2 separate regions of the Homo sapiens genome follow, and region 1 is linked to region 2. The links are contacts of gene promoters, found by promoter capture Hi-C in human tissues and cell types (Jung and others, 2019). All regions are on one chromosome and are shown on one strand. Each heading gives the region's core, a stretch centred on a gene start or on the middle of the fragment in contact. The rest is flanking DNA. Distances are from core to core; before and after follow the strand shown.

What was found. The method cuts DNA at HindIII sites, captures the fragments that hold promoters and counts their contacts. A contact is called where the count stands out against the background at its distance.
Region 1: a fragment that was not itself captured here is called in contact with the fragment with the promoter of F13B in region 2 in 2 of the 25 tissues and cell types used here (liver and mesenchymal stem cells).

Annotation. Positions count from the first base shown.
Region 1 is chr1:196,945,562-196,950,096 of GRCh38, forward strand. It overlaps CFHR2 (complement factor H related 2), which reads left to right. Exons shown (of 5, transcript NM_005666.4): 2 at 3,894-4,088. Among named protein-coding and RNA genes, the nearest start is that of CFHR2, 4.1 kb to the left of the region's middle. The HindIII fragment of the contact is 5,533 bases long and covers 416-4,535 here.
Region 2 is chr1:197,065,221-197,069,489 of GRCh38, forward strand. F13B (coagulation factor XIII B chain) reads right to left here and starts at 2,040. Exons shown (of 12, transcript NM_001994.3): 1 at 1,940-2,040. The coding sequence starts at 2,003. RefSeq lists an enhancer at 3,148-4,269. The HindIII fragment of the contact is 20,654 bases long and covers 1-4,269 here.

The sequences.
Region 1 (4,535 bases), core at 1,932-4,431, 120 kb before region 2:
CAACACACTGAAGCAACACATTTGTATACATAGAAAGCTGCATGCTTCCAGTAGCAAAATATTTATCAAGCACTATGTTGTGCTTCATGTAGCAAAGAAGCTGGAAGAAAATGACAACCCTAACCACACCTCACTGCAACTTACAGTGTCCTAAAGAAAAGCAAAATGTAAATAGGCAAATAAATTGCAAGGCTATATATAGGTGACTGTGAGTGAGTGTGTGTGTGTGTGTGTGTGTGTGTGTATAAACAGTCATGCATCACTTAATGATAGGGACACGTTCTGAGAAGTGCGTCCTTAGGCGATTTCCTTCTTATTCAAACATTATAGAGTGGACTTACACAAACCTAGGTTTTATAGCCTACTAGGTAACTAGGCCATATGGTATAGCCTGTCGCTCCTAGGCTGCAAACCTGTACAGCATGTTACTGTACTGAATACTGTGGGCAACTGTAGCACAATTGTAAGTATATGTTTATCTCAATATAGCAAAGTACAATAAAAATACAGTATAAAATATTAAAAACGGCAGACTTGTATAGGGCTTTTACCATGAATAGGGTGTGTAGGACTGAAAGTTGCTCTCAGTAAGTCATTACATGAGTGGTGAGTGAATGTGATGGCTTAGAACATCACCATACACGACTAGAGGTGGTATAAACACTGTATACTTAGGCTAAACTAATTTATTTTATTTATTTATTTACTTCAATAGTTTTGGGGGAGCAGGTGGTTTTTGGTTACATGGATAAGTTCTTCAGTGCTAATTACTGAGCTTTTGATGCACCCAGGATAGACTAAATTTATTTTAAACTTTTCTTCGATAATAAATTAACCTTAGTTTATGTTGACCTTTTTACTTCATCAACTTTAATTTTTATGTCTTTCGAGATAATATTTAGCTTAAAAAACATTGTAGAGATGTACAAAAGATTTTTTCTTTCTGTTCTTGTGCTATAAGCTTTTATCTTTTAAATATTTTACTTATTTATTTACTTTTTAAACCTTTTTGTTAAAAACAGACACAAACACACATATTAACCTCAGCCTACAAAGGGTTAGGATCATCAGTATCACTGTCTTCTTCCTCCGCTCTTGTCCCACTAGAAGATCTTCAGGGCAGTAACAGGCATGGAGCTGTCCTCTCCTATGATAACAAAGGTTTCTTCTGGAATAGTTCCTGAAGGATCTGCCTCAGGAAACATTAACCGTTTTACAGTTAATTTTTTTAACCAGTAGAAGAAGTTAACTATAAAATACTGATAACAATTATACTATATGAAATACATTAACCAGTAACACTTCTATATTGTCATCATCAAGTATTATGTACTGTACAAAATTGTGTGTGGCATATTTTTATGTGACTGGCAATGCTGTAGGTTTATTTACACCGGCATTGCCACAAACATGTGAGTAATATATTACACTGCTATGTTATGATGGCTATTAGGTGATAGGAATTTTTCAGCTACACTATAATCTTATGGGTCCACTGTCACATGAGCGATCAGTCATTGACCAAAATGTCATTATGTGGTGAATATCTGTACAACTGTATATATGTATGTGTGTGTGTGTGTGTGTGTGTGTATCCCAGAAGAAATATATTCATAATATTCTATCAGAATGTTGAGACAAGAAAAATTATTTTCTACTTTTGAAGTGGGTGGTTGTGTAAAGGAGGCTTGCAAGAAGACATTAACACTCCTAGCTAGCACCATTGCAGATATGCACAATGAATACTTGATGAATGTCATAGAGTTAATTCTGAAGCATAGGTACAATATAACTGGGTGATGAAAACCAAGTTATTCTGGATAGCAAAGAATATGTAAGTACAAATGTATGAAAATAAACTACTATAATTTTGGAGGAGTGAAGGATAACTAAAAGAGTTATGGTAGGTTAATACTATCAAGATGGGAGTCTTTCCCTCAATACCTTTACCAAAACTATCTAATGTCAAATTTTAAACAGTTAGATAATCAGTTTCACGTTTCACAAAGTGAAAATATTTCAAATATTGTGCAACATTAAACATTACTTCTAGACAGATGAAAAAGAGAAATTTCTGTTGATTTGTCAGCTTAATTTCTGCACACATCTTCCAAATAAGGTGAAAAATAAAATTATTTCTTATGCAACAGTACTATATTGCAACAATATCTTGACATAAAAACAAAGAGCAGTAATATATGAGGAACTATCTTGAGCTAAATACATACTCAAAGATAAAGTATATCAAACCCATGGAATGTACAACATCAAGAGTGAACCCCAACATAAACTATGAACTTTGGGTGATAATTATATTGACGGTGAGGGAGGTTATGCATGTGGTAGGGAAGAGGAAGTGGTATATAGAAATCTCTACCTTCCACTCAATTTTGCTGTGAAAAACTTGTTAATAAAATATAAAGTCTTATAAAAATATGTGTGTATATATATGAATGTGTACACAAAGAAAGAGTCAAAAAGTATGAAGATTTCACCCATTTTCTACATTGTTTTAATTTTTCCTGCACCATCGTGTATATGGATGTATATATACATATATACACTAGTCCTTTAGTATCCTCAAGGAATTGGTTCCAGGACTCTACCCACCCCCAGTAGATACCAAAATCCAAGGATATGCAAGTCTCTAAGACAGAATGATGTAGTATTTGTATATAACCTGTGTATATCCTCCCAAACAATTTATTTTATTTTATTTTAATTTTTTTTGAGGTAGAGTCTTGCTCTGTCGCCCCCAGGATGGTGTTTAGTGGCATGATCTCGGCTCACTGCAACATACCCCTCCTGGGTTCAAGTGATTCTTCTGCCTCAGCCTCCCAAGTAGCTGGGATTACAGGTGTGCACCACCACACCTGGCTAATTTTTGTATTTTTAGTAGAGATGGGCTTTCGCCATGTTGGCCAGGCTGGTCTCAAACTCCTGACCTCAAGTGATCCACCTACCTCAGCCTCCCAAAGTGCTGGGATTACAGGTATGAGCTACCACACCCAACCCTCTCATACAATTTAAAGAATCTCTAGATTATTTATAATACCTAATACAATGTAAATGCTATACAAATAGTTGTTATATTGTATTTTTAATTGCATTATTTTTATTGTTTTATTGTCTTTTTATTGTTTTTTTCCGAATATTTTTGATCTGCAGTTGGTTGAATCAGAGGATGTGAAACCAGTGGGGCTGACCGTATATATATGTGTGTATACAAGTATAAATATATAAATACAAATATACAATACATATTTGTATATACAACATTAACCAGAATTTAGCTCTAACTTTATCTTGAGTTGTTCTTAGTGATTTTCTTATATTCTCTCAATTATTTCCACTGAAACTATATTAACTTTGTAACCAGAAAGTATTCAAAATGATATTAATAAACAAACAACAAAACTAACTACCCAACATCTTTTCTGCACCAGAAAAAAAATAGGACAGAGTTTCTGGTGGAGATACCTATGACAGTCAATGAGAATAGAGAAAATAAGTAAATTGAGAGCTAAGAACAACCCTGTCACTCCTCTACTGTATACTAAGTAGATCAGGAAGATTTGCTAGTCTTACACTCTGCCTTCATTCTTAAATTGTTGTGTGAGGGTTTTCTTCTTGAAGACATTGCAGGAGAGTTCATATTTCATATCACTCCAAAATATAGATTTTATATTCATTAACAATTACCTCCTCAAATACTCGTGTACTCTTAGTTAGTGATGTCTTTTCATTCCTAATTTGGACACTGGAGAGCATTTAAGCTAAAGGCATTTAAGCTAAATGAAAGAAAAAAACTAAATGAGATGATTAAAATATAGTCTAGTGATTTATTTATGTAGCTTATTATGTAATTCTTCAGTTTTGTGTTATTTTCCCAGCAATGTTCTGTGATTTTCCAAAAATAAACCATGGAATTCTATATGATGAAGAAAAATATAAGCCATTTTCCCAAGTTCCTACAGGGGAAGTTTTCTATTACTCCTGTGAATATAATTTTGTGTCTCCTTCAAAATCCTTTTGGACTCGCATAACGTGCGCAGAAGAAGGATGGTCACCAACACCAAAGTGTCTCAGTGAGTAAATGCCCTGTTCATTAAATGGATGTCATTCAATGAACAGAGAAGGATATGCCAGACAAGATCATAAACACTTGATAATCACAGGAGCAGTGACCAGAGGAGCTGGAAAGATGGGAGATGTAGTCCTTCTATTTTGAGATGGCTCCTATGAGAATCAATGAAGAATAAATATGTCAACTGTCTTGCATTACCCGGAAATTCTCTACATGTTGAAATATATCAATTTTTTTAAACTGATGATTAATATATTTGACTGCTAATATTTCTTTACTAATATTCATTTGGCAGCAGCCTGATCATAGTTTTCCTTTTAAATGTCATTTTATACATATTCTGTTTTGAATTTAACATTCTTTTGCATATTACAAGGAGGTTTAGCATTTTCACTTTTATATTTCAATAAATAATTTCTTTGGTCCTTCAAAGTGTAGCTATATTAAC
Region 2 (4,269 bases), core at 790-3,289:
AACAATCCTAGGTTGTGGCTTTAAAGACTCTCTGTCCTGGGACATCTCCCTCCACCACCAGGATAGGCACATTATTTGTTAAGGTAGCTGGAATGCCTTGGAGAATATGAATTCCTGACAAAAAATTAATGAGAAATGTGAGGAATATACTAATCACATATAAACCAGGAAATCACAGATGTCTGAACATATTAAAAAAAGTACATGAAGCGATGGACACACTTACTACTGATCAGAGAATGGTAAATAAATAAAAATGGGATATCACTTTATGAATAACCATATAGCAACCAGTACAAAAATGGACAATATGAGGTGTTGGTGAGAATGATGAGGAGCAACAATTTACATCCTCTCTCAGAGATGATATACTTCAAAACTGCCATTCTGCAAAAGTAATCTCTCATTACAGAAATCAAGTACAAGAATAGACTCAATAATGCTATCTGTGAGTGAATACAGACTGATGACATTCTTACAGAAAGATAAGTTGGTTATATTACAATATTCATTCCAGAGCTATTTGTGGTTGAGAGAGCTAGAGTAACATGTTAAAACATTGTAGTAGGTCCCAGGGGAAATGGACTTCAAGATTAGGAATAAGGGGATAAAATGTGTAAGTAAAGCAAGAGTGAGACCTTTCATAGGCCAATAATACTTGCATACCATGAAATGAGAAACACAATTAATTCAATTCTTGTCCCTGAAGTGCACAATGGGAGTTGAGAGAAGCATGCAAAAATAAAATCATTGTCTTGGTCTTCAAGCAGCTTACTTTTTTTTTTGTTGTGTAAAATAGCATTATAACCTTATAATAATTAGAAAATTAACTAGAATATTGCAATGTCTTTATGGTATAGATAACAGACAATTATATCTGCTGGTATTTCCCTATTTAGACAGAAAAATAAAATCAAAAGAAATTCATGCAAAAATCATCCTATTATAGAATTAAAAGTATAAAATAAGATTAATTCTGTGTCTTTCACTTTTATAATTTTAATTATAGATGTTTTGGTAGAAAATTTATAGTTAACTATTCAACTAAAACACAGTTAAAACTTATGTATTTAATTTCAACAAATTCCCAAAAATGTTTATTTTAGAAAAGCTGTATTGCTGTAGCTTCCTTCTTTGTATGTTCACTCTTGCTAATGCTAAGTGTCCTCCCTGGATTCTTCATCCTATGGCCTGATAATATTGATAATGTTCCTGAACAACATACCCATGTACACTGCCTAGCTTCCACTCGCACACTAATCTTACACATTGGGCAATCTGACTATAAAGCTTTCTAATAGGGAGTCCATAGGTATTGGTTTGTTTGGAAAGTCCTGATTTACATGTGTTGTCCAAACAGTTATTAATAGAGCCCCTCTTTTACTCTCTAAGTGTCCCTGTTTGTACAAGCAATTATATGGTTCACCTACTAATCACTACTTAATGTCTCCAACAAATGAATAATTCATTGTGATAAAAATCAAAGTCTCAAAAGTAAAAAATATTTATGGCTATTTCCTTTTCAAATTTCCCACATTAAACTCTCACCTTATGAACAGAATTAAAATTGTACAAGTTTTGTCAGTATTAGGAATGGATTCTAGCATAAATTTAGAATTAAAGTTAACATGTGACTTCGAAATGGACATATTGTTAACCTGAAAACCTTTTCGAAGTATTTAGATCCTGGTCTCCTATGCCCCCTAGAGATACAAGGGTTTTTGTTTTGTTTTGCTTTTCTGACTTATGCTACTGTAAGAACACTTTACTAATTTTGCTCAAAGGAAAAGGTCTAAATATTATAAAAAGTTATATTTATAAAATATGTTATAAAATTGATAATGAAAATAGAAGAGTATATTAAAACTTGAGTTGTATAAATATTAGAATCTCCATTTGTATGTTTTAGAGAATAAAGAATATTAAGAATTAATTTTACCTTCTGCATAGAGTTCTCCTGAGATTATCAATATGATGATAAAAGTCAGGTTTTTCAACCTCATCTTCAGTGGTGTGCTTCACAAAGATTTTAACAATTCTAAGCACTAGGAACTTGTCATTAAGTACACAATACTTCTCTTGAGGAAAAAGTTAATAATTTATAACCTCTGTCTAAGTCCTTTTGTAACGAGTCTTATATTTCACTTAAAATATTTTGAAATAATGTTAAAATAACACAACTATATTAATTGACATTACTTACCATGTCAGAGTCCAGTAAGAGCATGATAACTGATTAGGGCAACAATAGCAGCAGAATAAATAATAAATTATAGCAGCAGAATAAATAATACTAGGTAAATTTTCAACCTAAGTTCCCAATTGTAAATTCATAGAGTAAAGTTCACTTGAGGCCATAGATCTTTACTAATATTGATCAGGTAAAAAGATGAACTTAGGAACATGAGATAACAGATACCTGATGTTGAAATATGTTGTTGCCTAGACTGCACTCCTTAAAGAGATACAGAACCATAGTTGTCTCAATGATAGAATAGTATTACTTATAATAGTAGTGTTTGACATTTAGAGAGTTTTTACTTTGTGGCAGGTGGTGAGATCAGCACTGTGCTATATCAACATTCATTCATGAGAAATGTTTAGAACGTCCATGATAATGGCAGCACATGTAACAGTTTTGAGGTATTTAGCAGTGAAAAAACTGGATTAAAATTATTGCCCTCATGGAGTTTACATTCTAATGAGTTTTAATTTAAAATACAAAATAGGAAAAAATGGTGGATAGGAGGCAGGACTAACTTGCAGCTCCCACTTGGATGGACAGAGCAGGATGTGGAGACTCGCATTGTGAACTTTTGCTCCAAGAACTGCTGCAAGGATATAACAGGAAAGCCAAGATAATCCACAGACCCTCTGAAGAAAGTATATTGCTCCTGCATGACCCAGAAAATAGCCCACATACTGTGAATGCCCAAACTGTGAAAAGTGTGAAAGGGGTATTGTCCACCCCTGAACACACACCCTTGGGGAACCTGAAGGTCTAGATCACAGGAGAAGGATTTGACCTTACCTGGAGCTCAGACAATTTAGAGAGCTGAGCGAAATACAGGGGTAGAGGAAGCAAAGGGTAAAGCCCCATCGTCTCTGTGGGTCCCCAGAGAAGCCATTTCTGACTTGTCTCACAGGGGCTGCCGGAGGAACTGGGAAAAGACCACAGGGAGAAGGAAACCTCCAGCTGAACTTAGTAACAATTCCAACCGAACACAAACTTTCCTGTCCAGAACTCAGGAAAGGGCGTGAATCTGGTGTGCAGACTTAACAGGTAGGGAGGCACAAAAGTCTGGCTTGCATTCTCAGCTGGGAGGCTAGTAGCCTGGGGCAAGTTCTCAATCCTGCTCCCCTACTGCCTGGAAACAAATTCGGTGCTTTTTGGGGGAACACAGTAGAAGTGAGATTTGCTTGTTGGGTTGTGTGAGAGCTGGGTGAGGTCTGTAACTGCCAGCTTTCCCCCACTTCCCTGACAACCTGCATGACACAGAAGAGGCAGCCATAATCCTCCTGGGAAGGTAACTCCATTAACCTGGGAATCACACCCCCATTCCCCACAGAGCCACAACAAGCCCCACCCAAGAAGACTCTGAGCTCAGACATGCCTAACCCTGCCCCCACCTGATGGTCCTTCCCTACCCACCCTGGTAGCTGAAGACAAAGGTCATATTCTCTTGGAAGTTCTAGTGTCCCACCCACCACCTGATCCTCCCCTATATACCACAGCTGATGCTCTCATGAAAGCACTACCTCATGGCAGTGTGTCTGGAATTGGTTCCTTCCAATGGGTTCTTGGTCTTGCTGACTTCAAGAATGAAGCTGCGGACGCTTGCGGTGAGCATTACAGTTTTTAAAGATGGTGTGTCCGGAGTTTGTTCCTCTGATGTTCAGATGTGTCCAGAGTTTCTTCCTTCTGGTGGGTTCCTGGTCTTGCTGACTTCAGGAGTGAAGCCGCAGACCTTCACAGTGAGTGTTACAGCTCTAAAAGATGGTGCGTCCGGAGTTGTTTCTTCCTCCTGGTGGGTTCGAGGTCTTGCTGACTTCAGGAGTGAAGCCACAGACCTTCGCGGTGAGTGTTACAGCTCATAAAGGTAGTGCAGACCCAAAAAGAGAGCAGCAGCAAGATTTATTGCAAAGAGCGAAAGAACAAAGTTTCCACAGCCTGGAAGGGGACCAGACCAGGTTGCTGCGGCTGGCTCGGGTGGCCAGCTTTTATTCCCTTATTTGGCTCCGCCCACATCCCGCTGATTGGCACATTTT